Regions from separate parts of the Homo sapiens genome. Here all the other regions are linked to region 1. The links are contacts of gene promoters, found by promoter capture Hi-C in blood cells and fetal thymus (Javierre and others, 2016). All regions are on one chromosome and are shown on one strand. The core of a region is centred on a gene start or on the middle of the fragment in contact, and the rest is flanking DNA. Distances in the headings are between cores, read along the strand shown.

Region 1 (7,085 bases), core at 741-3,240:
TTGGCATGAATGAGTACTCAGCACCCATCAGCTCGTATGATGTGGGTTGGCTGTGCCCAGCCCTGTGCCAGGGCAAGGTCCTGACCCAGCCTTGAGGGCATTTATCAGTGAGTCAAGGCAGAGAGAACTGAATGCCAGTAGGATGATAACAAGCCCTTTTTATACCTCAAAGTATGACACTATTTGGCTAAGACATAGCTGAGTGCTCCAGTCATCTTTTATTTTTAAGAGACAGGGTCTTACTCTGTTGCCCAGGCTGGAGTGCAGTGGCTCAATCATAGCTCACTGTGACCTCTACCTCCTGGACTCAACGGATCTTCCCACCTCAGCCTCCTGAGGAGCTGTGACCACAGATGTGCACCATCACACCTGGCTAATTTTTTGTTTTTTATTTTTTTTATAGAGATGGGGTCTCGCTATGTTTCCCAGGCTGGTCTCAAACTCTTGGCCTCAAGTGAACCTCCTGCCTCGGCCTCCTAAAGTGCTGAGTTTATAGGTATGAGCCACTGAGACTGGCCGCTCTAACCATCTTTCCTTCTGCCTACACGCTGCATACTTAGGGTGGTGGAGGGGAAGGGTAGGTGCACGCACACGGACACACACCTCGGCTATCCTGCGTGTTTATCACCTCAGCTTTCCACCCTCCAGGCTTGTCACAAATAGAAAAGGAGTGAAGATGCTCAGAATGCTGAGAAACCAGGACGCCACCACCCACCCCCAGCATTCACAGCCCTACAGCAGTTTACAGCTTATGCTGCGGAGGCCCTGCTTTCTCTTGGTCATTTCTTGCTCCGACCCTTCAGAATAGGTTATTGGCCCCATTAGGGAGCCAATGGGGATTTCAGGCTCAGGGAGTTGAAGTCCCTTGACTAAAGTTATAGGACAAGTGGCCTGGCTCTCTATCTAGAATCCAAGTATCCCAACTTCCACTCCAGAGCTCACATCAAATATATGCTCCCACTAGCTCCGCAGCCCAGTGTCCCTACAAAGGCCCTGGCCCAGAGTGGGGGCACCCCACCAGTTGGGAAGGGCAGTCAGATTCAGCCGAGGAGTTCCTCCCTCTTTCTTCTAGGTGCACAGTAGGCCCTTCATGAAAGTTTCTCTGCCCCCACCTTCCTTTCTTATTCTCTCCTTTCCTTCCTCCTTCCTTCCCCAGGAAGTCTCCAAACCATCCCTGTTTTGTGTCCAAAGCAGCACTGCAGATATCTCCCCTCCCTCTCTCTTCCTGTTTCTTCTGGCAGACCAGGAGGAAAGGGACCCAGGAGCCCAAGATCCAAACTCCCAGTAGTATAAACACTGGATGTTCTGTGGTGCGTCTGCCACCCACTGCAGCCTCATCTGTCATCTGGTTGTCCTAAGGCTTCCACCTTCCCCACTCAGCCAGGGGCCCTCCCTTGGAGAGGCCGACCTCAATTGCTTAGACTAGGGGTATCCAATCTTTTGGCTTCCTTGAGCCACACTGGTAGAAGTAGAAGTGTCTTGGGCCACATGTAAAATACGTTAACACTAACGATAGTGGATGAGCTAAAACAAAAATTGCAAAAAAAAAAAAAATCTCATAATGTTTTAAGAAAGTTTATGAATTCATGTTGGGCTACATTCAAAGCCATCCTGGGCCACAGGTAGCCTGTGGGCTGGACAGGCTTGGCTTAGACAGTCTACCCCCCAACCCAGTTTGACTCTTGAGACTCCCAAGGTCCCCTCCCCTGCTCTGTGGCCTCCTCGTGGATGGCCACTTGCAGTCTGCTCTGTAGGTGCTCTGGTGCAGGGCTGAGACCCCAGGCATCTAAAGAGAGTAGACATTGTGGTGGAGAGAATTAGAAAGGAGCCTGGATTTCTCCAAATGGGGGGCCCTCCTGGGAGGCTCTGGCCCTTGGACAGTGGGAGTGAGAATTGGCAGATGGGGAGGGACCCTTAGAAAGGGTGCCAGGGCTTCTCCTACCTGTGGGGCTTCTGCCTGTGGCTTGGGAGCTGTCTCTTTGCTCCAGCTGAGTGGCCTCACTCCCAGGCTGCCTTTAAGCCCCAGTGGCCTCTAGCCCCCAGCTCTTTGGTCCCGCCTCCCCCCTTCCTCTCCCTCTTCCACCCCACCCCCACTTCAAGAGTCTTGGGCTGCCTGAAGAGCATTGTTTACTGGCCTGTTGGTACAACACTTTACCCTAGACTGGGAGGCTCGGATTTCCCGTGGAAGATCTGACAGGTGGCACCTTTCAATCACGGCACGTCCCTTCCGCCCTGAGCCTGGCAGCATCCGTCCTGTGGTCATCTTTCTCCCCAGTGGACTCTCCTAACCCTAGGGACCTTGACAACCATCTTCAGGACTCATTTAGAGCATGGCCCTGGCCTCCACTGCTCATCCAGAGCCCAGGCGAGGCCTCTTGTGCTCCCTTCACACCCACCCCGCCACGTTCCTTACATAGCCCCTTTCCCTCGTCCTCAGACAAAAGCAGCTGCTTAAGGCTGGGCTAAGGAGGGGGCGAGTAGGGCAGCTGCCAACACAGGGGATGTGTCTTGGGGCTCACAGTTGACTGAGAGATTTGGAGGGGGAGGGGCAGAGAGGGCAAAAGTGATGGGACAAGCTGACGGATCACTGGACGGAGCCTGGAAAATACAAAACTCCTGAGTTCTATTTTGAGCTGAAGTGACAGGTACACAGTAGGCTCTGAACACATTTTTATACTGAACTGACATTTTGCTAAGAAAAAAACAAAACAAGCCTGGGCATGGTGGCTCATGCCTGTAATCCCAGCACTTTGGGCAGCCGAGGCGGGTGGATTGCTTGAAGCCAGGAGTTCAAGAACAGCATGGTCAACAGGGTGAAACCCTGTCTCTACTACAAATACAAAAATTGGCCGGGCTTGGTGGCGCATGCCTGTAATCTCAGCTACTTGGGAGGCTGAGGCACGAGAACTGCTTGAACCTGGGAGGCAGAGGTTGCAGCAAGTCACTGCACTCCAGCTTGGGTGACAGAGACTCCATCTCAAAAAAAAGTCTTCACTTTCTCTGTGTGTTTTACAATCTAAGAAAGGCACTACTTTTGGAGAATGGGTGCAGAGGACACTCCCACGAAGCTTGGGATCCCCCCCAGTCCTCCTACCCCAAGCCCCACCACTGGGCCACACTGGCCTCCTTCCTATTCCTTAAATAAATCCATCCCTTTTCAGACTCAGGACTGGTTTTTCCTTCTACTCTTTGTAAGACTGCCTCCCTCTCATTCTTCTGGACTTAGCTGAAATTTCATTCCCTCAGAGAGGTTTTCCATGACCTTCAATTCCTCTCCCTCATTTCAGCAGTTTTTATTGTCCTCATAATACTAAATCTAAAATTACCTTATTCATTTCCTTATTATCTGACTCTCTCACTAGGCTTTAAGCTCCATGAGGGCAGGGATTTTATCTACCATACTCATGGCTGTATGCCTAGATCCCAGCAGAATTGCCTGGCTCATATTAGGTACTTGATAAATACATACTGAATGAAATAACTAATTAATTAACAGAAATATGACAGGAACTTGGAGGTCTTGCCCGGGATGATCTGAAAGAGAGATCTTTCTGTGCATCTAGGTTTGGGTACTAGTCATGAAATAGTCCAATATTAATGGTTGCCAGCCGGCTCTAGTAATACTTGAAACCCGGCTGGGATTATAGGCATGAGCCACCATGCCCAGAGTATTTTGCTCTTTTCAATATCTAATGACAGTAGGATAAGAGAAATGAATTTAAACAAAAAACCAGCAAGCCAGAGAGAGATGTGGAAAAACTCGCCAATCTTGGGCAGATATACTCTGGATGGATGCTGTTTTGAGAATAAAGTGAAGAAGCATGGATAGAAGTGGGGAGAGCAGTCAGGAGACAAACTCAGTGACCCTGGTGCAGGATGGTGGTGGCTTGGACCACAGTATCAGCCATGGAGGTAAGAAGAAGTGATGGGAAACAGTAATAGTGCAGACAGTGATTAAGCCAGGGCCAGCTTTTTCTTCAAGTGAATAGAATGACGTAAGCCATTTCATCACAAGGGAGGTTACAGGAAACCTCTGTTTTTGTATTCTCTGCACCTCTCATGAGTGGTCAGGGCCCACTTGAAGTGATTCTAGATGAAAACTCTGCATCTCTTCTTCTGGGGCTGGGGTCCCACCCAAGAGGACAATACTGACCCACGATGAATGACAAATATACAACTCACCTTTGCAAGGTTGGGAAGGGGTAGAATGCAGGGTAGAATGAGGAGCCAGAGTTTCAGCATGGTGTTGACAGAGATCAGTAGCTTTGGATGACATATCTGGAGTCTAAGGATATCTTCAAAGTCTGAGGCTATCTAAACTGTCTTCTACAAGAAGCAATTCAACTGGGACCATTGGAGATTCCTACCTGTAGGTCTCCACATAGAGGAAAGACACAGTCTCATAGTAAATAATCATAATAACAATAGCATCATCATCAATAAGAGCAATGGTTTTCCAGAGGCTGAGCAGCTGGGGAGATGGAGAGTTGCTGTTCAATGGGTATACAATTTCAGTTATGCAAGATGAATAAGTTCTAGAAATCTGTGTACAATATGGTACATATAGTTAACAATACTATTTTGTGCACTTAAAAATTTGTTGGCCGGGCGCGGTGTATAAAGCACTTTGGGAGGCCAAGGCAGGTGGATCATGAGGTCAGGAGACTGAGACCATCCTGGCCAACATGGTGAAACCCCATCTCTACTAAAAACACAAAAATTAGCTGGGTGTGGTGGCATGCGCCTGTAGTCCCAGCTACTTGGGAGGCTGAGTCAGGAGAATCCCTTGAACCTGGGAGGCAGAGGCTGTAGTGAGCGGAGATCGTGCCACTATCCTCCAGTCTGGTGACAGAGCGAGACTCCGTTTAAAAAAATTTTTTTTGTTAAGCAGGGCCCAGTGCAGTGACTCATGCCTGTAATGCCAGTGCTTTGGGAGGCTGAGGCAGGAGGATCGCTTGAGGCCAGGAGTTTGAAACCAGCCTGGACAACATAGCAAGACCCTATCTCTACAAAAAATTTTAAAAACCACTCAGGCATGGTGGCTTGCGCCTGTAGTCCTAGCTATTCAGGAGGCTGAGATGGGAGGATTGCTTGAGCCCAGGAGTTTAAGCTAACAGTGAGCTATGATTGGGTCTCTGCACTCCAGGCTGAGCGACAGAGACCCTGTCTCAAGGAAAAAATAAATAAATAAAAGGGCTTTATCTGTTAGAGATAAAAATAGATGAAGAAAATATGGACAAATGTTAACAATTCCTAAGTCCTGGTGATGAATATATGGAAGCTCAATGTCCTGTTCTCTCTGCTTTTCTGTATGTTTTAAATATTCCATCTGGGCATGGGGTGGCTCATGCCTGTAATCCCAGCACTTTGAGAGGCCAAGACAGGAGGATTGTTTGAGCCCAGGAGTTTGAAACCAGCCTGGGAAACATGATGAGACCCTATCTCTTAAAAAAAAAAATTAGCCAGGCATGGTGGCTCATGCCTCTAGTTCCAGCTACTTAGGAGGCTGAGGTAAGAGGATTGCTTAAGCCAAGGAGTTCACGATTGCAGTGAGCACTGATCATACCATTGCACTCAAGCCTGGGTGACAAGGCAAGATCCTGCCTCAAAAATCCTAAGTAAAAATAAAAATAAATTTGCCCCAGTGAAAGTTTAAAAATGAAAAAGAATGAAAACAATGATTTATTTTTATTGAGCATCTACCATGGACTAGGTACTTTACTTACACAATCTTTTATATAAATATTTTTCTTTCTTTCTTTATGGCCAGCTCTTACTCATACTTGTATAATCTTATTTGTTTTCTTTTTTGTAGAGATTTTTAAAACTTTTTATTTAGAAATAATTATAGTTTCACAGGAAGTTGCATTAATAGTACAGAGAGGTCCTGTACGCCCTTTACCAACTTCCACTAAAGGTTAAATCTAACATAACTATATTCAATATCAAAGCCAGATAATTTATATTGGTACAATGTGTGTGTGTAGTAGTTCTATGACTTTTTTTTTCTTTCTTTTTTTTTTTTAGACCGAGTCTTGCTCTGTCGCCCAAGCTGGAGTGCAGTGGCACAATCTCGGCTCACTGCAACTTCTGCCTCCCGCCTCCCGGGTTCAAGCGATTCTCCTGTCTCGCCCTCCTGAGTAGCTGGGACTATAGGCGCATGCCACCACACCCGGCTGATTTTTTTTATTTTAGTAGAGACGGGGTTTCACCATGTTAACCAGGATGGTCTCGATCTCCTGACCTCGTGATCCACCCGCCTCGGCCTCCCAAAGTGTTGGGATTACAGGTGTGAGCCACCGCGCCTGGCTTTTTTTTTTTTTTTGAGACGGAGTCTCACTCTGTCGCCTGGGCTGGAGTGCAGTGGCACGATCTCGGCTCACTGCAACCTCCACCTCCCGGGTTCAAACGATTCTCCTGCCTCAGGCTCCTGAGTAGCTGGGGTTACAGGTGCCCGCCACTACCCCCAGCTAATTTTTTGTATTTTTAGTAGAGACGGAGTTTCACCAACAAGGCTGGTCTCGAACTCCTACCTTGTGATTCGCTCGCCTGGGCCTCCCACAGTGCTGGGATTACAGGCGTGAGCCACCGCACCCTGCCAGTTCTATGACATCTTATCACCTGTGTAGATTCTTGTAACCACCACCACAATCAGGATACAGAATTATCCATCAACACAAAGATCTCTCTTGTGCTACCCTTTACAGGTACACTTCTATCTCCCCATCAACCCTAACACTAGACAATCAGAAATCTCTTCTCCATCTCTATAATTTTGTGATTTTGAGAATGTTACTTAAATGAAATCATACAGTATGCAACCTTTCATAAGGCCCAGTAGATATTGCAAGATTCCTCTTGTAAGAAACCATCTCCTTTTCCCACGCAGTTTCTTAACTTTCCATAATGTTTCTTTTTTGCGGGGAGTGGGGGGTCGGAGTTTCACTCTTGTTGCCCAGGCTGGAGTGCAATGGTGCGATCTTGGCTCACTGCAACCTCTGCCTCCCGGGTTCAAGTGTTTCTCCTGCCTTAGCCTCCTGCTTAGCCTCTTGAGTAGCTGGGATTACAAGCACCCGTCACCACAC
Region 2 (7,383 bases), core at 4,702-7,201, 160 kb before region 1:
AGGAGAGTAGTGGTTGATGAGGCCCCAAAGCTAAGTTGGAGTAAGATGTAATTAGCCTTGAGTGCCAGTCAAAGGAATTTGAGCTTTCTCCTGAGGGCAAAAAGAAACCATTAAGATTTGTGAACTGAGGAGTACTGATTTCCAAAAATATCTGGAACATGTGGGTGCCATGGATTGAAATAGAGAAGCCCTGAGTGATGTTGGCAAGATTTGGAATTTCAAAACAATTTTTTTTTTTTTTATCTTGTTGGGCAGGGTGGTTCACGCCTGTAATCCTAGCACTTTGGGAGGCTGAGGCAGGCAGATAGCTTGAGTCCAGGAGTTCAAGACCAGCCTGGGCAACATAGGGAGACCCCTGTCTCTACAAAAAATACAAAAATTAGCCTAGCATGGCAGTGTATGCATGTAGTCCCAGCTACCTGGGAGGCTGAGGCAGGAAAGTAGTTTGAGCCCAGGATGCAGAGATTGCAGTGAGCTAAGATTGTGCCATTACACTCCAGCCTGGGTGACAGAGCGAGACTGTCTCAAAAAATAAATAAATATAAAAAGTAATCTTTGTAGAATAGTCAAAACTGGAATTTGAACTCTCAAGTTACAGTTTAGAAAAAGCACAGACTGCCTTCTCACCTGAGCCTTAAGGATAACCATCTGGACAGAGGAGAGTTGGCAGAGCAGGGGAAATTCAGAAGATTGTAATGGCAAGAGGCAGTGCCCAGAGTTATGAGGAGAGATACTGTGACATTGGGTCTCCTGCCATTACCCTCGCTCAGTCTTCTGAGTTGTTTGGTAGTAAAGGGAAGGAAAAGGATGAATAAGGCCTAGAGGTATAGAGGGAAAGTGCCTTGTTTATTTAATAAATATTTATTAAGCACCTAATGTGTGTACTGTGCTGGGCACTAGCGATACATGAATGAACAAGACATTGTCTGTGCCTCCAAGGAGCTTACAGTTCAGTACCTCAGTTTTCCCAAGTGAATGATTATAAACAAGCCATTTTTGTCATTTGTACCCTCTGTGTCTATCATAATTACAAATGAAGTTGTAGTTAGCTATTTCTACCCTTGCTAGTAGGTCCTTATTAAGTTACTAATAAATGTATATTTTTTAAAAAAGAATCAGCCATGCAATATTTATATGGATAGTGCCTTGCATACATATAATACTTTTTTTTTTTTTTTTTTGAGATGGAATCTGACTCTCCCACCCAGGCTGGAGTGCAGTGGTGCAAACTCAGCTCACTGCAACTTCCACCTCCCGGGTTCAAGCAGTTCTTCTGCCTCAGCCTCCCAAGTAGCTGTGACTACAGGCGCATGCCACCACACCCAGCTAATTTTTGTATTTTTAGTAGAGATGGGGTTTCACCATATTGGCCAGGCTGGTCTCAAACTCCTGACCTCAGGTGATCTGCCTGCCTTGGCCTCCCAAAGTGCTGGGATTACAGGCATGAACCACTGTGCCAAGCCTGATACTTTATGCTTTTCAGCATATTTTCATTTGAACCTTGGGAGAAAATTATGTGTATGTAAGATAGCTATTATTCCATTCCACAGATAAGAGGAAACTGAGGCATGGAAGACAGCCAGAATAATTCTAGTTGCCTGACTTGTTTTTTTGTTTTTGTTGTTTTGTTTTGTTTTGTTTTTTTTGAGACAGGGTCTCACTCTCTCACCCAAACTGGAGTGCAGTGGCCTGATCTCAGCTCACTGCAACCTCCGCCTCGCAGGGATTACAGGTGTGTGCCACTACTGTCCAGCTAATTTTTGTATTTTTAGTAGAGACAGGGTTTCACCATGTTGGCCAGGCTGGTCTTGAACTCCTGACCTCAAATGAGCTGCCCGCCTTGGCCTCCTGAAGTGCTGGGATTACAGGCGTGAGCCACCGCGCCTGGCCATTAGTTGACTGACTTCTAATCAAACATTTCTTCCTGGATGCGTGCTGTGGCTCACACCTGTAATCCCGGCACTTTGGAAAACCGAGGCGGCGGGGGGTGGCGGATCACTTGAGGTCAGAAGTTCAAGACCAGCCTACTCAACATGGTGAACCCCCTTCTCTACTAGAAAAAAATTAGCCAGGCATGGTGGTGTGTGCCTGTGATCCCAGCTACTTGGGAGGCTGAGGTGGGAGAATCACTTGAACCTAGGAGGCGGAGGTTGCAGTGAGCCAAGATCGTACCCCACTGCACTCCAGCCTAGGCGACAGAGCAAAACTCCCGTCTCAAAAACAAAAAACATTTATTCCTTTTAGGCAAGGCATCATACTCAGTATCACGAGGAAGAATAAAGATGTTGGTAACAAGTTAGGCAGTGGTAGCTAGAAAAAAATCTCCCAGTTCTTTTCTTATGTAAAGGTGATTAGTGTTTCTTGCTAGTAAAAAAAAAAAAAAGTCCTTGACAAGACCCTTAAGTCACTGGGTCATATTTGGCCCCCTGAGCATGGTTGTAGCTGAGCTGCAAGGTCGTATTTTCCTAGCTGTGTCAGAGAATATAATTTTTCACTAATACATTTTATGAGAAACACTCAGAACAGCATTTACCACGAAGCAAGCATCATATAAATCAACTCCAGTTAATCTTAAGAGAGTGGAGTGTCTCCTTCATTGGGCTAGAGCAGTTCCTGTCTCTGCCCTATTGGATTTTTGCCTGTTTTTCCCCTTCCCATTGGAACCTACCATTGTGTTGTATTATACTTTTCATGTTATTTACTTTTGCTGTTTTTTTTTTTTTTTTTGAGACAGAGTCTCGCTGTTGTCCAGGCTGGAGTGCAGTGGCGCAATCTCAGCTCACTGCAACCTCCACCTCCCGGGTTCAAGTGATTGTCCTGCCCCAGCCTCCTGAGTAGTTGGGACTACAGGCACGTGCTACCACGCCTGGCTAATTTTTTGTATTTTTACTAGAGACGGAGTTTCACCGTGTTGTTAGCCAGGATGGTCTCGATCTCCTGACCTGGTGATCCACCCGCCTCAGCCTCCCAAAGTTCTGGGATTACAGGCATGAGCCACTGCATCCGGCCTGCTCTGTTTCTTTAAAAATAAATTTTAAATTTTAAAATCTGCACTTAAAAAATGTCTTATTTAGGTTAATATATAGTCCTTCACTCCCTGGGTCTACTTTGAAGACTGATCTTTTTTATTTTTATTCTGCGTTGTCTAGGTAGCACAGAGCTGACAGGCAGCACGAATCTGATCACACACTACAACTTGGAACAAGCCTATAATAAATTCTGTGGGAAGAAGGTGAAGGAGAAGCTAAGTAACTTCCTGCCTGACCTGCCAGGGATGATTGATCTGCCTGGTTCCCATGATAACAGCAGCCTCCGCTCTCTCATTGAGAAGCCCCCTATTCTCAGTAGCTCTTTCAATCCTATCACAGGGACCATGCTGGCCGGCTTCCGCCTCCACACTGGCCCGGTGAGTCCTGTTGGAGGAAGAAGGCAAATGGGGAGGCCTAAACATGGAGATGGTTTTTCTCTCCAAGTCTGTTCCTTCATAATGGAGCAGAATGGATGATAAGAGCAGGAGAGATTTCCTCCCTCTACTCACCTGGACCTTCCTTTGGTTCCTTCAGTTGCCGGAGCAGTGTCGTCTGATGCATATTCAGCCTCCCAAGAAGAAGAATAAGCACAAGCACAAACAGAGCCGTACCCAGGATCCTGTCCCCCCAGGTAAGAAGCAGTTCTATTCAAAGCAAAAAAAAAAAAAAAAAAAAAAAAACCTGACCTTCTGAATCTGGTTTGAACTTCCATAGGTAAACCCAGTTAAGTTCCGTATGGAGCTCTGGACTCCTAAATTCCCCTGAAGAAGAAACCAATGTACTGTGGTCTCTTGGGACTTGGGACAGGGACTCTAGCAGCACCTCTGTATCCTTTCTGGCCATTTGGACAAAAGCAGTTGCCCCGACTTGGGATTTTCCTGTAGTCTTCAGTGGTTCATAACAGTAGAGGATTTTGAGCTTTACAGGTGATAGGTACCTAATGTCTCCTACAGAAACACCATCTGATTCAGATCACAAGAAGAAGAAAAAGAAAAAAGAAGAGGATCCTGAACGGAAAAGGAAGAAGAAAGAGAAGAAGAAAAAGAAGGTAGAGTAGAGGCCTATTGCCACAACCCAGTGAGTTTCCCCAGATCTCACCCCTGTCCTAAATACCCTAGAGTTCTTTGCCTCAAGTTGGACCCAAGATTGAAAACCCAAGGCAGGTTGCAGGTTTCTCCTGTACAGCCTGATCAAAGCCAAGGCTAGTTCCTAGTTGTTCTTACCCTGCTTCTTTCTCCCCCAGAATCGACATAGTCCAGACCACCCAGGTATGGGCAGCTCCCAGGCCAGCAGCAGCAGCAGCCTACGCTAATAGGACCACTGGACTCTTTGCCAGGATGGCTTTTCCTGCTGTACTGAACCTGCTGATAAAAGCTGCCTTCCAGGCTCTTGGACACTGCCTTGGGAGCATCCTGCAGCTGGGACAGAGGCCAGCTCCTGTTGGGCTCAGTTGAGACTAAGTAAATTAGGAGAGAGAGGGACATGCTTTTGTAGGCTCATCCCAGTTGGTTTTCTCATGGACATCTCTTCCTCTCCCAGGAAGCTTACAATTTTCTTCTCTCTCTTTTGTGCAATTTGTCTGATTTAGGACTTGTTCTGTGTTTTCTTTAAAAAAAAAAAAATTACATTTATCAAACTGGCTGAAGTGTGACTGCCTGTTAAGAGGTATGTGCCTTTCTGTGAATCAGGATTTAAGACAAGGCATTCCTAAGACTTGAGGGGATTTGGGTCTTGTCATTACATGATCTCACTAGCAGGCAGGGAACCAACCAAAATGAAAAGTGACCCAAGCTTACTAATACTCCACAGCAGACACGTAACACTCTGCCCATTATGTTGAGAACCAAGCGCCTCGGTGATCTCAGGCTCCATCTGAAGAGCTGATCCAGGTAGGGCTCAACAGTGTATTCTAGGTCAATTTTGTGTCGAAAGAGAATAGCCAACTGAAAACACATGGACAGTCACCCATGTGTTTCAACAAGATTGGTTCTTTAGGTCAGAAGCCTGTGATCTTTTGAGATGAACTTCTGGCAAGCAAAGGTAAAGCTTCCCTTCTCTTTACAAGAACTTTTGACCTGCTTCGGTCCTTAGTTAAGACAATAAAGTTATTTAGCTGATGTGAAAACATTTCTAAAACAGCAACAAAATGTAGCCTAAACCATCAAAATGTGAAAAACAAAAACAAAAAACACTTTTAGTTTTTCCAGCTGGTTAGGTAACTGAAAACATCCATGAGAAAACCTGAATTAATGTAATCTGACTTTAAATTTAACACAGTTAAAATCTGTTGCCGTGAAAGCCAAGGTTGTTCCTGAATCAGTGGGTGGAAAACCACTCATTCAGCTGGTTTAAATCCAGGATTTCAGAATAAGAGTTTGCTGGGTTTTTTTTTTTTTTTTTTTTTTTTTGAGACAGAGTCTTGCTCTGTTGCCCAGGAGTGCAGTGGCATGATCTCGGCTCACGGCAACCTCTGCCTCCTGGGTTCAAGTGATTCTTGTACCTCAGCCTCCCAAGTAGCTGGGACTACAAGTGTGCGTCACCACACCTGGCTAATTTTTGTATATATATATATATATTTTTTTTTTTTTTTTTTTTTTAAATTTTGGAGAAAGAGTCTTGCTCTGTCGCCCATGTTGGAGTGTAGTAGTGCAATCTCAGCTCACTGCAACCTGCACCTCCTGGGTTCAGGTGATTCTCCCACCTCAGCTTCCCAAATAGCCAGGATTACAGGCACCCATAACCAACGCCCAGCTAATTTTTGCATTTTTAGTACAGACGGGGTTTCACCATTTTGGCCAAGCTGGTCTTGAACTCCTGACCTCAGGTGATCCACCTGCCTTAGCCTCCCAAGGTGCTGGGATTACAGGTGTGAGCTACTGCACCCAAATAAGAGTATATATATATATATATATTTTTTTTTTTTTTTTTTTTTTTTTTTTTCCTGAGACGGAGTCTTGCTCTGTCACCCAGGCTGGAGTGCAGTGGCGTGATCTCGGCTCACTGCAAGCTCCGCCTCCCAGGTTCACGCCGTTCTCCTGCCTCAGCCTCCCAAGTAGCTGGGACTACAGGCGCCCGCACCACGCCAGGCTAGTTTTTTGTTATTTTTAGTAGAGATGGGGTTTCACTGTGTTAGCCAGGATGGTCTCGATCTCCTGACATTGTGATCAGCCCGCTTCGGCCTCCCAAAGTGCTGGGACTACAGGCGTGAGCCACCACGCCCGGCTAAGAGCTTATATTCTTAAATTTTGAGTAATTAAAGGGCTCTGGTCAACTGCTTGAGATTTAGTGTCTAAGGATACCTATTTAAAATTAGAGCACAGCTTTTGTCCAATAAAATGCAATATATCTAATTGAACTGACACCGATATCTAGTTAACCTGCCTTCAACAGGCTTTCATACCTGTTACTATGTCACCTTTGGCTGTTTCCAAAATTAGCTTTACTTTCCAGAGACTAAATCCTGTATTAAAAAACAACTGTAGCTGGGCATGGTGGCTCATGCCTGTAATCCCAATGCTTTGGGAGGCCAAGGCAGGATTGCTCAAGGCCAGAAGTTCGAGATCAGTCTGGGCAAAATTGGTTGAGAGTCTATCTCTACCAAAAAAAAAAAAATTAGCTAAGCATGGTGGCATGCAACTGTAAGTCCTAGCTTCACAGAAGGCTGAGGTGGGAAGATCCCTTGAGCCCAGGAATTTGAGGATATAGTGATCTGATTGTGCCACTGCCCTCCAGCCTGGGCAACCAGAATGAGGCCCTGTCTCTTGAAAGAAACAACTTTTAAGAGTTCTCTAAGCTTTCAAATAACAAGCAGTTTTGGTGATTTCAAGAGACCTTTTTTCAGGAATTTTTGAATTAAATCACCCAAATAAAAACAGGACCTGTTGTTTTTAGAAATGGAGTCTCTATGTTGCCCAGGTTGGTCTGGAACTCCTGGGCTCAAGTGATCCTCTTGCCTCAGCCTCCCTCAGTGCTGGGATTACAGGTATAAGCCACCGCACTGGGTCTCTTTTTTATTTTTTTAGTTGTTAAGTGGCTAATTTCATTATAGTCTTGCCTAAAGATGGGCTGGGACCAGAGAAGTTTATGAGGTTGTCACTGATAACTTCCCACCAGAGATCGTTCACCCTGTCTCAACCAGACAAAATAACACAAGTCAGGGGGCGCTGGTTAGATCAGGATTTCTTTTTATTCCTCGTTGGTTTAAAATGGCTAATCAGAATAAAAAATAAAAGGGCCTCTTTGTGGAGGCTGGGATCTCCCCTATTTAGAGGTTAGAACCCAGGTATCCCCTCTACCCAGCACCATAGTGAGGTGGGCTGAGGGGTAACCCCCAAGGGACAATCGGAGGGGCCTA
Region 3 (7,664 bases), core at 321-2,820, 250 kb before region 1:
CAGCCTGGTCAACATGGTGAAACCCCATCTCTACTTAAAATACAAAAAAATTAGCCGGGCATGTTGGCACACACCTGTAATCCCAGCTATTCAGGAGGCTGAGGCAGGAGAATCACTTGAACTCAAGAGACAAAAGTTTCAGTGTGCCGAGATTGTGCCACTGCACTCCAGCCTGGATGACAGAGTAAGACTCTGTCTCAAAAACAACAACAACAAAACGAGTGTCACAAATTTATGCTCTCCATCTAAAAACAATGACAGGCAAAACTCCATTTCCATGTCGTTCTAGGGAATTTTTTTTTTTTTTTTTTGAGACAGGATCTAGCTCTTGTCGCCCTGGCTAGAGTGCAGTGGTGTGATCACAGCTCACTACAGCATGGACCTCGTGGGCTCAAGCAATCCTCTTGCCTTGGCCTCCCAAAGTGCAGGGATTACTGGCATGAGCCACTGTGCCCAGCCATTCTAGGGAATGCAAAGGGCTTTTTTCAAAAGCACACTGGGCTGGGCAAAGTGGCTCACACCTGTAATCCCAGCACTTTGGGAGGCCAAGGTGGGCAGATCACTTGAGCCCAGGAGTTTAAAGATCAGCCTGGGCAACATGGCAAAACCCCACCTCTACAAAAAAATTACAAAAATTAACTGGGCATGGTGGTGCACACTGTAGTCCCAGCTACTCAGGAGGCTGAGGTGGGAGAATTGCTTGAGTCTAGGAGGTCCAGACCACAGTGAGCCACAATCACTACATTGCCACCTGGGCGACAGAGTAAGACCCTGTCTCAAAAATAAATACGTAAATAAATAAATAAATAGCATACCAAGCCTCCTACTGCAGAATACTAATCAACAAAATATAGCACCTGTAACACTACAGAACTGTATTACATAACATTCAAGCCAGAAAGGGGCCCTTCAGATACCTAAAAGGCATTTATTTGCCTTAACTGGCACCTGACCCCAAATTTGAAGAAATATTCCGGTTCAACCACAAACAAACTTGCCATTTTGTTTCTAAATCAAAGAAATATATTTTGTCAAGATTTTCTATGGCTTTTTTTTTATTTTGAGATGGAGTCTCGCTCTGTCACCCAGGATGGAGTGCAGTGGCGCGATCTCGGCTCACTGCAAGCTCCGCCTCCCGGGTTCACAGCATTCTCCTGCCTCAGCCTCCCCAGTAGCTGGGACCACAGGCGCCCGCCAACACGCCCGGCTAATTTTTTGTATTTTTAGTAGAGACGGGGTTTCACCGTGTTAGCCAGGATGGTCTCGATCTCCTGACCTCGTGATCCACCCGCCGCGGCCTTCCAAAGTGCTGGGATTACAGGCGTGAGCCCGGCCTTTCTATGGCTTCTTATCAGTGCTTATACCAGAGTCCAAAGTCTAAGTACCCCGCCCTACCTCCACTTGATGTTCCACGTTTTTTTTTGTTTGTTTGTTTGTTTTTGAGATGGAGTCTTGCTCTGTCGCCCAGATGCAATGCCGTCATCTCGGCTCACTGCAACCTCCACCTCCCAGGTTCAAGCAATTCTCCTGCTTCAGCCTCCCAAGTAGCTGGGACTATAGGCATGTGCCACTATGCCTGGCTAATTTTTGTATTTTTAGTAGAGACACGGTTTCACCACGTTGGCCAGGCTGGTCTTGAACTCCCGACCTCAAGTGACCCACCAGCCTTGGCCTCCCAAAGTGCTGGGATTACAGGCGTGAGCCACCATGCCCAACCATGTTCCACCTTCATGCTCAGTCAGAACAGTTCTAGTATTTCTCACTTCACTGGGAAGACTCATCTTCTGTTAATTCCAAGTCCCTGAAGCTGATTTGCGTTAAGATTAAAAGGACTGTGCTCACTTCACAATCTCAACTGAGCACTACTCAAGTCACAAAACCTGTATTATTCTGGATATGGCCTTCTCCTAGTGTTCACTCTTTCTATGCTTCCTCATGGATCTGCTTCCTGCTAGGCCCAACTTCTCCATTTAGAAGTGTTAAATCAAGTTTAGCCTAGGCAAGTTTATGCCTCCTTACATCTTTTAAGTTTGGCCTAAAGATTTATCTGTACATAATGAACTATAACCTAAATGGTGGTAGAAATAGACTGTAACCTACTCTTGTGCCAATCACTGAGTTTTGGCCACTCAAAGGGGGCCAACTGTTCCAGCTGAGCCATAACCAATCCAGCTGTTTCTGTACCTCACTTCCATTTTTTGTTCATCACTTTCCTTTTTCTGTCCATAAATCTTCTACCACGTCTGCACTGGAGTCTCTGAGCCTACTGTGGCTCAGAAGGCTCCCCAATTAGTGAACTGTTCTTTGTTCAATTAAACACTGTTAAATTTAATTTAGTTAAGGATTTTATTTTAAAAGAGGGTAAAAGGCTGACCAAAGAAGTCTTATTTTCATGAGGAAAAACTAGGTGTCCACCAGGAATCTCTCTGATGAATTAAGGAAGGCTCTGGGCAGACCACCCTCCTCTTAGGAAAGAGTGATACATTCTCTCTGATTGGAACGTCAGAGAAAAGAATTTTTTAAAAAACAAAGATATAAACAAGATAATACTCCTTGTTAAAAGGAATTTGAGCTGGCAACCTCTATACATCAACAGGGTACCTTAAACTCCCTTTAGTCTTATAATCCTTACCCAAAGCTACCTGTCAATATTTAAAGTTTTTACTGCAACTTAAAAAAAAAAAAATCACCTCCACCATCATGACCTCCTAAATTCTGAGACCAAATAAAACATTCTTCTTTTTCTCTCTTTTCCCCTCCCAAGTATTCTGAGAACCCCCTCTAAACCATAACATACTAAAATGGCTTAGTGCTGGGCTGGCTTTGAAGCCAAGGAAGGGTGTGGCTCTCAGCTAGTGAGGGGGCCCAGGACTGAAAGGGTACAGAAAGAAAAAAACCTGCTTCTCTGTGGAGCATGCATGACGCACACACAGGACTGGTCTAACAAGTCCTGATCTCTCAGGCCAGGCCGCCTCCTTCTCCTCCCCCATTATCCATGTGCCTCTCCAAGGCCCTCCACTGGGACAGTTCACACTGAGTTTTCTCTAATCCTGAGAAGAGACTGAGTTACTTACCTGGATCCCTGTGCAACCTTGCCAAAGACACCTCACCTAGCCTTAAAAGGAGAAAGCAGGGCTTTAGGGAGAGGCCGATAAGGAAACAAAGATAAGAGGGAGGGGCAAAAAAACAGAGGAAGGTGTTAGACTAAAGGAAGGGGAGAGGCCAAATGCCTTTCTCCTTCCTACAAGAGGAGAGAGATCAGGTACACTATGAAAAATAAGAAAAAGCCTCATTGAAATGCAAAGGTATTGATTAGGTCTCATGTCATAAAAGAGAAATCCTAAAATTAACTAAGACACCTTATATCCTTCCATACCCTAGACTCGGAAAAAAAAAATATTCATGGAAAAGCTTAACCTTAGAGTTTACTAGGGGTCACCCAACTGTTTGAGCTCACATTCCTTTTTTAAAATAGCAGCTTCTCGGCCAGGTGCGGTTGCTCACGCCTGTAATCCCAGCACTTTGGGAGGCTGAGGCGGGTGGATCACCAGGTCAGGAGTTTGAGACTAGCCTGGTCAACATGGTGAAACGCTGTCTCTGCTGAAAATACAAAAATTAGCCTGGCGTGGTGGCAGATGCCTGTAATCCTAGCTACCCGGGAGGCTGAGGCAGGAGAATCGCTTGAACCCAGGAGGTGGAGGTTGCAGTGAGCAGAGATTGCGCCATTGCACTCCAGCCTGGGCAATAAGAGTGAAACTCCATCTTGAAAAAGAAAGAAAGAAAGAAAATAGCAGCTTCTCACCAAACTTTCAATCTATGGCATTCCCCCACCTCTTTGCCCATCATTTGAAAATAACTTGGAAAAGGTGGAAGCATGTAATTGAGCCAGATTTACACAGTCCCAATTCCTCAAAACCCTGAAAAGACCAATAAGGCATTCTTTTCATCAAGTTTGGAGTATGTCTTCCTTTTGAGATAAGCAACAGGGAGACAGAGCATGTCAATCTATAAATAAATCAATCAGAAGTGTTAAGGTCCTTTCTTGGCTTTAGGACAGATAGCAGGAGGAAATGTTTCTCCTTATCTGAAAGAAGAAAATCCCATCTTGAAGGGGAAGAAAGTTGTGCATTATTGCTCTTCCCCTTGAAGTTATCATATAATCCTTTCAACACCTGCTGAGGTAATGGCCTCTTTTTATAAATAAGTATACTACCTATATACCAGAAGTATTTAGTATCTTGCCCAAGCTCATCAACTAGTAGTAAGTAGTGAAAACTCCTATTTTATTCCAAGTCCATGCTCCTTCTTGATAAAGTGGAAAGAGTATGAATTTTCTATGTTTCCTGGGGTTAAAAGTCATTCTTCGGGCCAGGAGAGGTGGTTCAAGCCTGTAATCCCAGCACTTTGGGAGGCTGAGGCAGGCAGACTGCTTGAGCTCAGGAGTTTGAGACCAGCCTGGGCAAAATGGCAAGACACCATCTCTACAAAAAATACAAAAAATTAGCTGGGGGTGGTGGCATGTGCCTGTAGTTCCAGCTACTCGGGAGGCTGAGGTGGGAGGATCACTTGAGCCTGGTGGTTCCAGGCTGCAGTCAGCCAAGATTGTGCCACTGTACTCCAGCCTCAGTGACAGAGTAAGACCCTGTCTCAAAAAAAAAAAAAAAGTCATTCTAGTTCCAATTAAGAAGTTAACCCAAAGTTGACATTTTTTTTACGGAGAGGGGAAGGAGGCAAGAGAAGGTGGAATGGAGCCAGCTAGACTTTTGGGTCTTATCTTCACTTTAAAGAACAAAACCTTACTCAATTTGGGAAGAGTAGCTTGCAGCCTACTTCAGATTTACCTTCCCTTTTATAAGAACCTAGTACTCAGGAGGAAAGGTGCTAAGAACAAAAGAGGCACTACTCTGTAAAAATTACCTACCTTACCACTGGCAAGCCTGCTCTAGAAAGCTGGCTACATGTCACATTCTCTGATCACCCCCTCAACCCTACCACAAGAAAAAAAATCCAATCCCTACTCTCATTTTTAATGTGACATCTCACTAAGCCAAAAGCAAAGATCAGAGATGGGGTGGGAAACAGAAGGAACTAGAGGCAGTAAAGATTGTGCTAGCCAGCATAAGAACAGAGAAGAAGGATTGTTCTAGTGGTATGTTAGCAATCTGCCTCTAGGGCAGCTGTCCTCCTGGACAATCAAAGGCGGGTTTGTGTGTGTGCTCAGGAACCAGCCAGCTTGGCTCAAAGTTAAGGACTCAGCCATCCAATCCACAAAGTGAGAAAAGATGCCTGTTTCACAGCTGGAATGGAAGGCAGGGAAAACACAAAACAAGAGAGAAAAGAGGGCAGAAAAGAGAGAGGGTATTACAGGTGCTATTTCAGTCTAGACATAGGGAAGAAAAATCCCAGGAAACTACCAACCATTCTCTAGTTATGATCAAACATTAGAGAATTGCTAGTAACTCTTAATACTAAGCGGGTAGGTTTCTCCTGATCTGTATGCAGTAGGGTGCCAATTGGAAGGATGAGATATAAAATGTAAAGGACCTCAGCATTACCTGTTTCCTTCTGTCCCTTTTAAACCCAACAAGGTACCTGCAACATATACAGCAAATGAACATTACTTAACATTTATTTCCTTCTAGAATTCCTTTCTTAATTAAATCCTAGAGATCCACAAAGAATAGCAGCACACACAAAACTCAGTAAGCTTCCCAGTGCTAAGAGATCAGGACCATTTATATAACTTAAGTGCTAAAACGCAAAAGGCCACAGTCAGAATTCACACTCTCTAATCCCTCGGAGTAGCTAGATGCTCCGAGACCCATTAGACACACAAAGGCTGCTCTCTTCTCAGCAGAGCTCTGTAGCAGAGCTGCTCTCCAGGGACAAAGAGATTTCACAGGAGAACCACAAAGACATCGACCCTCTCTGTTCCCCCACTCCCAGCTTTCTCACTTCCTGTCACAGTAGCACCAGACCACAGTCTCCCAGAAACAAACAAATACAAAGTGCTGGATTCTGGGCTGCAGGCCAACTGCATTCCAGGGCATCCTGTCTACCAATCACGGGCCAGAGCCCCCACTTTGCCCTGCTCAGCTCCTTATCATGTTCAGGGAAAACAACCCTCCTCTCTGCCCCAAGCCAACACTACGTAGGACAAAGCTCAGGCCTTTAAGAATCAGCAGAAAGACTGTGTGTGGATCTAAAAGTTTGAAGGGGGTGAGGGAATTTTTAAGATTCCTACTTGGCAAGTTTCTTCACTTTGGAGGCACTGCATTAGGGATTTTAAAGCTACTGATGCTGTTAATTCAGCTCAGCTACATGTGACACATCCCATTATGGCAATTTGATTACCAATCTGGATTCAGTCAATGGAATATTCCCATTTGGAGAACTACTTTAGGAACTTCACCTTCCCTATCATCCACCTCTGTTTTCAGCCTTTCAAACTTTCTCCCTACAAGCATAGAGTTGATTACTAAGACAGGCTCCACAGAGAACAAACAAAGGCAGCGGACTCCACCCTACAAAGAGGCAGTTTAATCAGGTGCTGGGAGCAAAGTTCCCCGTTTCCCTAGAGAATGAGAGGACAACCACTAGGAATTGCACAGAAGCCAAATCCTGGCGGCAAAGAGGTCAAGACAGCAACATCAGCTTTTCCTGCTCACAACCCCCTGAAGTGGGTCAGGGGCTGTAAATTTGGAGCCTAGTCAGAAAAGAAAGCCTCCTCTCCTAATAAAGGTCCTCCACTAACTGCAAGAATGAGATAAATGATACATTTTTCTATTATCTTGTACAACCCATTGGAAATTAGCCCTAAATCACAGAAGCAAAAATGCAAACAGAGGTTAAGCTCTATTAGCTAGAGATTCTTGAAATCCAAAGAAGCAACACCCTTTGCCCAAAGGGCTCAATTCCCTTTGCATAAAATGAGCAAGATGCTCAGCAGAGTCCTCCAACCAGAGGGGCACACCAGGAACTAACTGGTAATATGCTATCACTTCTTGTCTTGTCTTCTCCCTTTATTTTTCCTAGATTCCTTTCATCTTCTTAGATCTGCTAGAAGTAGTATGGGCCGAACCCTGGTCTAAAGCAGCACATGATACAAAGGAACTAAGTCTAAACAGACAACTTAGAAGGATTTAGTCCTTGGCCTGGCACAGTGGCTCAAGCCTGTAATCCCAGCACTTTGGGAGGCCGAAGCAGGCAAACCACTGGAGGTCAGGAGTTCGAGACCAGGCTGGCCAACATGGTGAAACCCCATCTCTACTAAAAATAAAAAAATTTGCCGGGCATGGTGGAGCACACCTGTAATCCAAGCTACTCCAGGTGGCTAAGGCAGGGGAATCACTTGAGCCCGGGAGGCAGAGGTTGCAGTGAGCTGAGATCATGCCACTACACTCCAGCCTGGGTGACCAAAAAAAGAAGGATTTAGTCCTTATCTGGATCTGGTATGACCAGGTGGCAAGGGTAGGGCAGTAATATACACAATAGCCATTCTAGGGTTGAATAGAAAAGAATATTTAGCAACACTATGGAACTTCAGCAGCAGAGCCCAGCCATTGCAAACTCTATCACTGAAGCATACACAAAAAAAGTTAACAGTCTCTTACTTGGCATGGTATCAGACTAACTCCCTTTATCTCTCAAGAATACTGAACAAT
Region 4 (7,466 bases), core at 3,168-5,667, 190 kb after region 1:
GCAGTTTCGATTCTCTCCCGTCAATCACACCAGCCATCACTACCAGGTATATCTCTTAGAGCTATTTTTTTTTCCCCTTTTTTGCAGGCCATGTGATGGCGCAAGGCATGCTGGAAGCAATGGATATAGATCAAATCCCTGGGTTTGAGTCCTGATGTGCCTCTTAATTAGGCTGTATAATCTCAGGCAAGTTTTGAAATCTTTCTGAGCCTACCTTGGGGGTGGGGGAAGATGGTGAGCTGTGATCTGTCAAAAATAGGTGTGAAAGGGCTTTGCAAACTTAACTCTAGGGCTCTTAATCTGAGGTGCAGGGATAGGCTTTCATTTATTATTTATTTTTTAGAATTTTTAATCTTATTTTTGTAGAGAAGGAGTCTTGCTATTGCTGCCCAGGCTGGTCTCAAACTCCTGGCTTCAAGGGATCCTCCCGCCTCAGCCTCCCAAAGTGCTGGGATTACAGGCAGGAGCTTCCACACCTGGCTACGGGATAGGCTTTTAGAGGGCCTCAAAGTCTTGGAATTTTATGCTGCATAAATATAAATGCATAGAATAAGAACTGGAAAGAAACTCATTAAACCGTCCCAGATGTTAATTCCCTGCAAAGGGTGCAGGCCTGGGGGAATGAAGGGGACTTCCCATGTCATTACTTTGTATATATCAGTATTGGTTGGATTTATTACTCTGAGAATGTATTTGTATCTTATTTGTAGAAATGAAATAACCTGGCTAGGCGTGGTAGCTCACGCGTATAATCCCAGCACTTTGGGAGACCAAGGTGGGTGGATTACTTGAAGTTAGGAGTTCGAGACCAGCCTGGCCAACATGTTGAAATCCCGTCTCTACTAAAAATACAAAAATTAGCTGGGCGTGGTGGCGGGCACCTGTAATCCCAGCTACTGGGGAGGCTGAGGCAGGGGAATTGCATCAACCCGGGAGGTAGAGGTTGCAGTGAGCCGAGACTACTGCACTACTGCATTCCAGCCTGGGCAACAGAGCAAAACTCTGTCTCAAAAAAAAAAAAAAAAAAAAAGAAATAAAATATCCTTTAAGAAGAGAACTTGCCTGTGAATTTTCTCATGTCTATGAATACATGCATCTTCCTTGGACAATGGTCCCCATTTTCATCGGGGGCATAAAGCAGTTAGAGACCTCTGAAAGTTAAGGAAGGGCTGTAATTTCACAGATGAAAGTTGTCAGGACTTGTCCTGGACATCTCTGCAGGTGCCCCTCAGGTCCGTGCTCCTCCCTTCCTCGCCCTGCCCTGGGCTGCCTCAGTGGGCCACTTTGCCTCAGCTCTGGCTTCTGGTGGGGCTCTCCTGAGTCACAGCCACATGTCAGGCTGTCCTCTGCTCACAGCTCTGTCCGTCTCCATGTTCCTGTCACTGCTTCCTCTCCTCGCCTCTTCAGACCTGGGTGGTAACCAGTGTCCTGTTTCTGGCCCTGGCACTGCACTATCTGTGTGGTTTCCGTACACCCTGCCCACACCTTTGAAACAGTCCCTTTATTAAACTCTCCTCAGATTACCCAGTTAGAATGTGCCATCTGTTTCCTGCGGGGACCCTGACGGATACAGTATTTTTAATCTGTCATTGCACCATCAATGCCTATACACTCACGCACACACACACACACTGACACACTCACTCTCAGCCTCACACATTCACCCACTAACAAATACACCCACTCTCACGAACTCGCATGTGCACACACACTCACACACACACACAACATCACCTGTTCCCAGGACTTTGGGAAATATAGTACTCTTGTTAAAATCCTGCTCCTGTGAATTGAGGGTCTACCTGGGCCTCAGAAACCTTGCCAACAGAGAAGAGAGCCTCCTGAAGAACTGCAGGGCTCTGCTGAGGGCGCCTTTCACTTGTGCAGCACTGAACTGGTGACTCTCAACAGTTCTTATTTTTAGAAATTGCTGCATTTTGTCTGCTAGAAATCCAGATGACCCCACCAACTGCAATCTCAGTGTGCTTAGAAAGAGGCTTCATAAAAATACTAAGTTAAAGCGGCCCACGGAGTCTTTAGCCACGCAGAACAGACCAAGGAGTAAAAATAAAATGTCTCCACTAAATTTCAGGTAGGGGAAGAACAGAATCTTTAGGGGATCACAAAAATAAAGATTAACTTGCATGGACAGCACCAAGTACACTGGAGAGGATTTAAAGGGAGGCACATTTTGGCTCAATTTGAGGTCACCTTTCCAATGAATGGAGCAGGCCACTTTGCTTGCCACGGAGATCAGATATCCCCCAGTGTCAGGGTGATTACATGGGCCTGTAATCTCTTACATGGGTCCGTAAACTCCTTTAAATCACAAGGGTCACATTAGGAGTTGAGATCCAATGACCTTTGAGGCTACTCTAAGATGCCCCCTTTGGAACTTCCGCTTCCTCATCTGTAAAGTGACCGCCTTACTCTGGGTGACTGCAAGGGGAACTTCAACAGCTATAAATTCTCAAAATCTCTGATTCTGCAGGCAAAGAGCTACAAAAAATAGGGGCGGGGGGGGGGGAGTGACATTTGGAAGGGAGCTGCGAATGTAATTAGTGATGGAAATGTGAATCTCTAGCTGCCTCTGGATGTCTTAGTTAGCAGATTCAAACACGGCCGAATCTTGGCTGAATAATTCCATTCCCTCCAGAGCAAATGGCAACAGTAGGGGTGTTGAAAAATCTGCCTCTGTTGGAGGGAGCAGCAAATGAATTGTTTGGGAGACAAAAGGCCGGGCTATGAATTGTGCTGCCAGCATCTGCTAGTCTTGAAATCTCCTTGGAACTTAGATTCTTTGTTTTTAAGCTGGGATGAAAGTGTCAACCACATAGGCATGCTTTTTTTTCTGAGGATTAACAAGTACAAATGTCCCTAGTCTTCCTGGCTGGGGTGGAGATCATCCAAAGAAATATGTTTTGAATCCAGGCTCCCCCTCTTGCTTGCTTTGTGACTTTGAGAATGTTATTTAACAGTGAGACTCCATCTTCTCCTTTATAAAGTTGGGGGGGATATTGTAGCATCTACTTCGTAGGGCATGCAAGGAATGCTGAGCTGAAGCACACAAAACGTTTTGCACACAGGGTGACTAGTATGGTTTCTACTGATAAGTAGCTTGGTGAGATTCTAAAAAACAGCGTACATCTTACCATATCATAGAAAGTGCACTGTGACCCGCACTGAACCTGGCTTTGTGACCCTTTCTCTCTTATTCAAGCATTCAGAAAGACAGCTTTGCAGCCTCCCACACGTGGGCTCTTAGCTTAGCCTTGGGTGCCAGTAGTTTGAGGTTGCATGAGGGTGGTGGGTGGGCACCCAGGTGAAGGGATGGGAAGGGGCTTGGGCAGAGCCCTCTGCTTGCCACTGATATCAGATGTCCCCCAATGTCAGGGCTATTACTTGGGCCCTCTGGAAACTTTTAAATCACAAGGGTCAAACTAAGCAGCTTTGCCTCCTTCTTCTCTGGCCTGGGGGACTTTGTTGGGGGAGTCAATTATCTGAGATCCTAAGAGGGGGTGGTTTCTCTTAGGCCTCTGGGAATTATGCAGGCAGGGTCTTTGGGGATATTCCGTCCTGCCTCCCCAAATACCCTCCAAGCTTATTTAGGACCAGGTCTATCCCGCATCCTTCTGTGCTCAGGTGGGGAGGGAGGGAAGGCAGCCACAGTGCAATAAATTGGAGATAAAGAACTCCAGACCAATTCTTATTTAGATGAGAGATGCTGTTCTAAAACTGTACGATATCAGTAGTTGGGGGTCTTTATAATATTCACATTCTTCATAAGCTTTTCTGCCAAATGAGTTATTTGGAGGATTAAAGAATTCCCAATGGCCAAAGGGAAGTTATGAAGATGAAAACTTGCATTTTAGATCATGAGAATTTTATTAATATGTTACTATTTTAAGCCACCATACAAATATCCTTTGTATTGATCTCAGTGTGATATACCAACTGAATAAATATGCCAATTTCTGCCAGTGAGCCGCACAGTATTTTTAACCTACTTTAAAATATGTGTTGTTTCCTATGGTTTTTTTAAAGTTTGGAGTTGATGATGAAAGTACTTCAATTTTTAAAGATTCTTCTTTCCAGAGAATATACATGTATATTTTAAACTATTAAATATAAAGCTTAATGGGGTGGGTGATTATTTTTTTAAGTTATAAATTAACAATTTTAAAAGGTGAAATGATTATTTTTGGCTTACGTATGCCATTGTATCAGAGAATACCACCTCAACAAAGGAAATTTGAGTAACATTTATTTGAATATATTCAAATATACATTCTTATGTTCAAATGTAAATGAAATATATTCTTATGTATTTTTTTCCCCTGGTCACTCCCTATTTGTTCTATTTAAGCTGTTTAGTGTATAATGCTGTGTACTTAAACAGGGCCCTGCCAGAAACTTCAGGATCTTCAAAAACTGGGGGAAATCCACAATGTATACATGTATCAAAACATCACATTGTATCCCATATATATGCAATTGTTATTTATCAATTAAAAAGAAAACAAAACCTTTAATAAGTAGTGTTGACCTTGTAGTCTACACTTTGAGAACTGCTAACCTAAGATAACTGAGTACGGTCCTCAGCACGTAGTAGACAATTGGTATGTGTTTAATGGATGAATCAATAAATGAATGATTCAGAAAAAAAAGAAGAGAGAAACAAAACAGAAAGCTGAAGCTTTTCACACATTGGTTAATTGAATCCTGAAGATCACAGTGGTACTATCACAATTTCATAGGTGGGGAAATTAGGATGGGAGAAGACAAATGGCTTGTTCAAGCGCTTTCAGTTGCTTCCAAACAGTTTGTCCTCTAATTCCTCTCTCCCTTTCTTCAAAATGGAAAAACAAAACAAAACAAAACCCGAAAAGATCCCTGAAGTCTCAAAGCCATTGGGATGATATTTAAAGACTGGTCTGAGTTCTTGTTTGGAGAGGCATTGAAGAACCAGAGACAATTATAATTGCTACTGGTGACACACGTTTGCGGAGAGAAATGCAAAGTTGCCATCTTGTAAAATGTAAAATGATACCAGTTATCACCCTTACTTTGTAGAGCGAGAAACCTTAGAAAATTCAGGCCCAGGGCAGGGAATGGGCCTATCTGGAAGTCACTTAAGCACGTCACAGTTTCAGGCCAGTGTTAGGAACAGGCAAAGAATCGCAGAACCCTAGCATTTCAAGAGACCTTGGCCCTCTCTTCTAACTACTGACCTGCAGCAGGAATCCTTGGCGTGGTCCCCTTCAGTGATAAGGAGACACTGTCTCCCAGGACAACCAGCTAGATCCTAATGGCTGTTAGAGAGTCCTTCCTGATTTGAAATGAAACCTGAGGTGGGACTTGGGGCCAGGGGTGGGTGGATGGATGTGGGATCTTGTCTCCCCAATAAACATTGCCGTTAACAGCCCGCACCTTCTTCTCCTGGTGTCCCAGGAGACAGGGAATTACCTGAAGTTGTAGCCTGGGGACACGCTGCTTTTCTCAGAAACGCTGTCGAGCCGGGTGAAGGAGTATTTGGGGATGCACTGGTCCCAGGCCTTGTCCAAGTCGCACACCCAGCCGATCTTAATGCCCAGAACTCCCCCCTGAAGAAACGGGCCGGGTATGAGCTTTCCCCTCGCCCTCTGACTCCCTGCTCTGGGCCAGGGTGGGGGTGGGGTGGAGGTGGTGACAAATGATTTCCTCCCATCCTCCAGGTGGGAGACGGAGGCAGGGAGAACGGAAAGTGACATGTCATATACTGCTCAGTAAAGAAGTGCTGTGGTGGCCGGGTGCGGTGATTCACGCCTGTAATCCCAGCACTTTGGGAGGCCGAGGCGGGCGGATCACGAGGTCAGGAGATCGAGACCATCCTGGCTAACACGGCGAACCCCTGACTCTACTAAAAATACCAAAAATTAGCCGGGCTTGGTCCCAGCTACTCCGGAAGCTGAGGCAGGAGAATGGCGTGAACCTGGGAGGCGGAGGTTGCAGTGAGCCGAAATCGCGCCATGCACTCTAGCCTGGGAGACAGATCGAGACTCTGTCTCAAAAAAAAAAAAAAAAAAAAAGGTTGTGGCTCGGATGCGAACATTGGAGCCTCTGAGTCCTAATTTTGGGATCTTCAGTGCTTTAGCTACAACACAGGAGAAAGTGGCCACAGGTCTACTTTCCCGTCGTTTGGGGCTTATTACAGATCTAAGGCCTTTGCCTGAGGTGAAGTGTGAAGATGGGAGTGGGAAACTGAGGCTTGAGGAAGGTGGACTCGGCGGAGGCGGGGGGCAAGATCGCTCTGCGCGGGGAAAGCAGAAAGGATTCAGGCACAAAGCCAGTGGCGGCCTGGGATGCTTCCACCAGGTGGCGCTGTCTCGCGGCGGCTCCTGGCCAGTGCCGGCCAAAGGGCCCTGAAATCTGGGAAAGGGCTGAAGGTGGGGAGTTTGGGGTCGCGGAAGAATGGCTAGGTCCTCACCGTGCGCGCCAGTTTGGCAAAATCCTGCCCCGCAAACTTGACCACGTCCCCTACCCGCAAGATGGGGCAGAAAGGGTCCTTGTCCGGGTGGAAGCGGCAGGTCTTCATGTCCCTGGCTGTCAGGTTGGGAAGGAGGTTTCCCCTGGGGAGGAGCAGAGAGAGAGGTCAGCCCAGGGTTCATGGGAAGATCGTCTTGTGCAATCTCTCCCCGCCTTCCGGAGCCCAGGCCTAGGGGGGATCTGAGCCCTCAGCCTTCATCTGGACCTCGCCATCTCCCTCCCCTCTTTCCTTTCCCTGCATCTTTCTGGTGCCCCATCACCGCCTTCCCTGTGTATCAGGGTGATGTATGTCGGTGACTAATCTCCAGCTGCCAGGCTGGGAGTTCGAGAGGGCAGGAATCATTCTTGGTTACTCTGTGCATTTTTTTTTTTTTGAGACGGAGTCTCGGTCTGTTGCCCAGGCTGGAGCGCGGTGGCATGATCTCGGCTCACTGCAACCTCTGCCTCCCAGGTTCAAGCGATTCTCCTGCCTCAGTCTCCCAAGTAGCTGGGATTACAGGGGTGTGCCACGGCGCCTGGCTAATTTTTTTTTTTTTTTTTTGGTACAGACAGGGTTTCACCATGTTGGCCAGGCTGGTCGCAAACTCCTGACCTCGTGATCCACCCTTCTCGGCCTCCCAAAGTGCAGGGATTACAGGCATTTGTCACTGCGCCTGGCCTAGTGCACTTCTGTAGTGACTGGCATTGCCCTCTGCACATGGCCAATGCCCACTGAGTAGCTGTGGAATGAGTAAGTCAATGAAGGGGGGCTGAACTGACTAAGAGAAAAGGGATTTCCACACATGGGCTAGATGTGGGGAAAAAGAATGGGACGAGACCGAAAGGGTTTCAACCGTTGAAGGCATCCTTGACCCACGACTAGGCCTAAGTTGTCCCTCTCCTACCCCAAGCAAAACTCCCGTTTGGGTCTGAGCCCCAAGGTGGGGAGGCTGGCAGAGAAA

What was found. Contacts are between HindIII fragments. The CHiCAGO score rates a contact against its expected background, and 5 or more counts as called.
Region 2: a fragment that was not itself captured here is called in contact with the fragment with the promoter of SMTNL1 in region 1 in 2 of 17 cell types (neutrophils and M0 macrophages); the score reaches 6.7 in neutrophils.
Region 3: a fragment that was not itself captured here is called in contact with the fragment with the promoter of SMTNL1 in region 1 in 3 of 17 cell types (activated CD4 T cells, naive CD8 T cells and neutrophils); the score reaches 7.4 in activated CD4 T cells.
Region 4: a fragment that was not itself captured here is called in contact with the fragment with the promoter of SMTNL1 in region 1 in 3 of 17 cell types (M0 macrophages, activated CD4 T cells and naive CD4 T cells); the score reaches 8.8 in M0 macrophages.

Annotation. Positions count from the first base shown.
Region 1 is chr11:57,532,500-57,539,584 of GRCh38, reverse strand. It overlaps SMTNL1 (smoothelin like 1), which reads right to left and starts at 1,990. Exons shown (of 8, transcript NM_001105565.3): 1 at 1,943-1,990. The HindIII fragment of the contact is 14,036 bases long and covers 1-3,070 here.
Region 2 is chr11:57,700,996-57,708,378 of GRCh38, reverse strand. ZDHHC5 (zDHHC palmitoyltransferase 5) reads right to left here. Exons shown (of 12, transcript NM_015457.3): 12 at 7,197-7,383. MED19 (mediator complex subunit 19) reads left to right here. Exons shown (of 5, transcript NM_001317078.4): 2 at 3,150-3,406; 3 at 3,564-3,660; 4 at 3,983-4,077; 5 at 4,273-4,669. The coding sequence ends at 4,341. Among named protein-coding and RNA genes, the nearest start is that of MED19, 7.5 kb to the left of the region's middle. RefSeq lists an enhancer at 3,045-4,244. The HindIII fragment of the contact is 1,747 bases long and covers 5,078-6,824 here.
Region 3 is chr11:57,777,057-57,784,720 of GRCh38, reverse strand. The region is part of intron 1 of CTNND1 (catenin delta 1); the gene reads right to left. The region is part of intron 2 of TMX2-CTNND1 (TMX2-CTNND1 readthrough (NMD candidate)); the gene reads right to left. Among named protein-coding and RNA genes, the nearest start is that of CTNND1, 19 kb to the right of the region's middle. RefSeq lists enhancers at 1-465, 4,232-5,117, 5,118-6,004 and a silencer at 5,960-6,162. The HindIII fragment of the contact is 3,687 bases long and covers 1-3,413 here.
Region 4 is chr11:57,348,899-57,356,364 of GRCh38, reverse strand. It overlaps P2RX3 (purinergic receptor P2X 3), which reads right to left. Exons shown (of 12, transcript NM_002559.5): 7 at 6,467-6,608; 8 at 5,467-5,603. Among named protein-coding and RNA genes, the nearest start is that of P2RX3, 14 kb to the right of the region's middle. RefSeq lists an enhancer at 6,037-6,536. The HindIII fragment of the contact is 563 bases long and covers 4,136-4,698 here.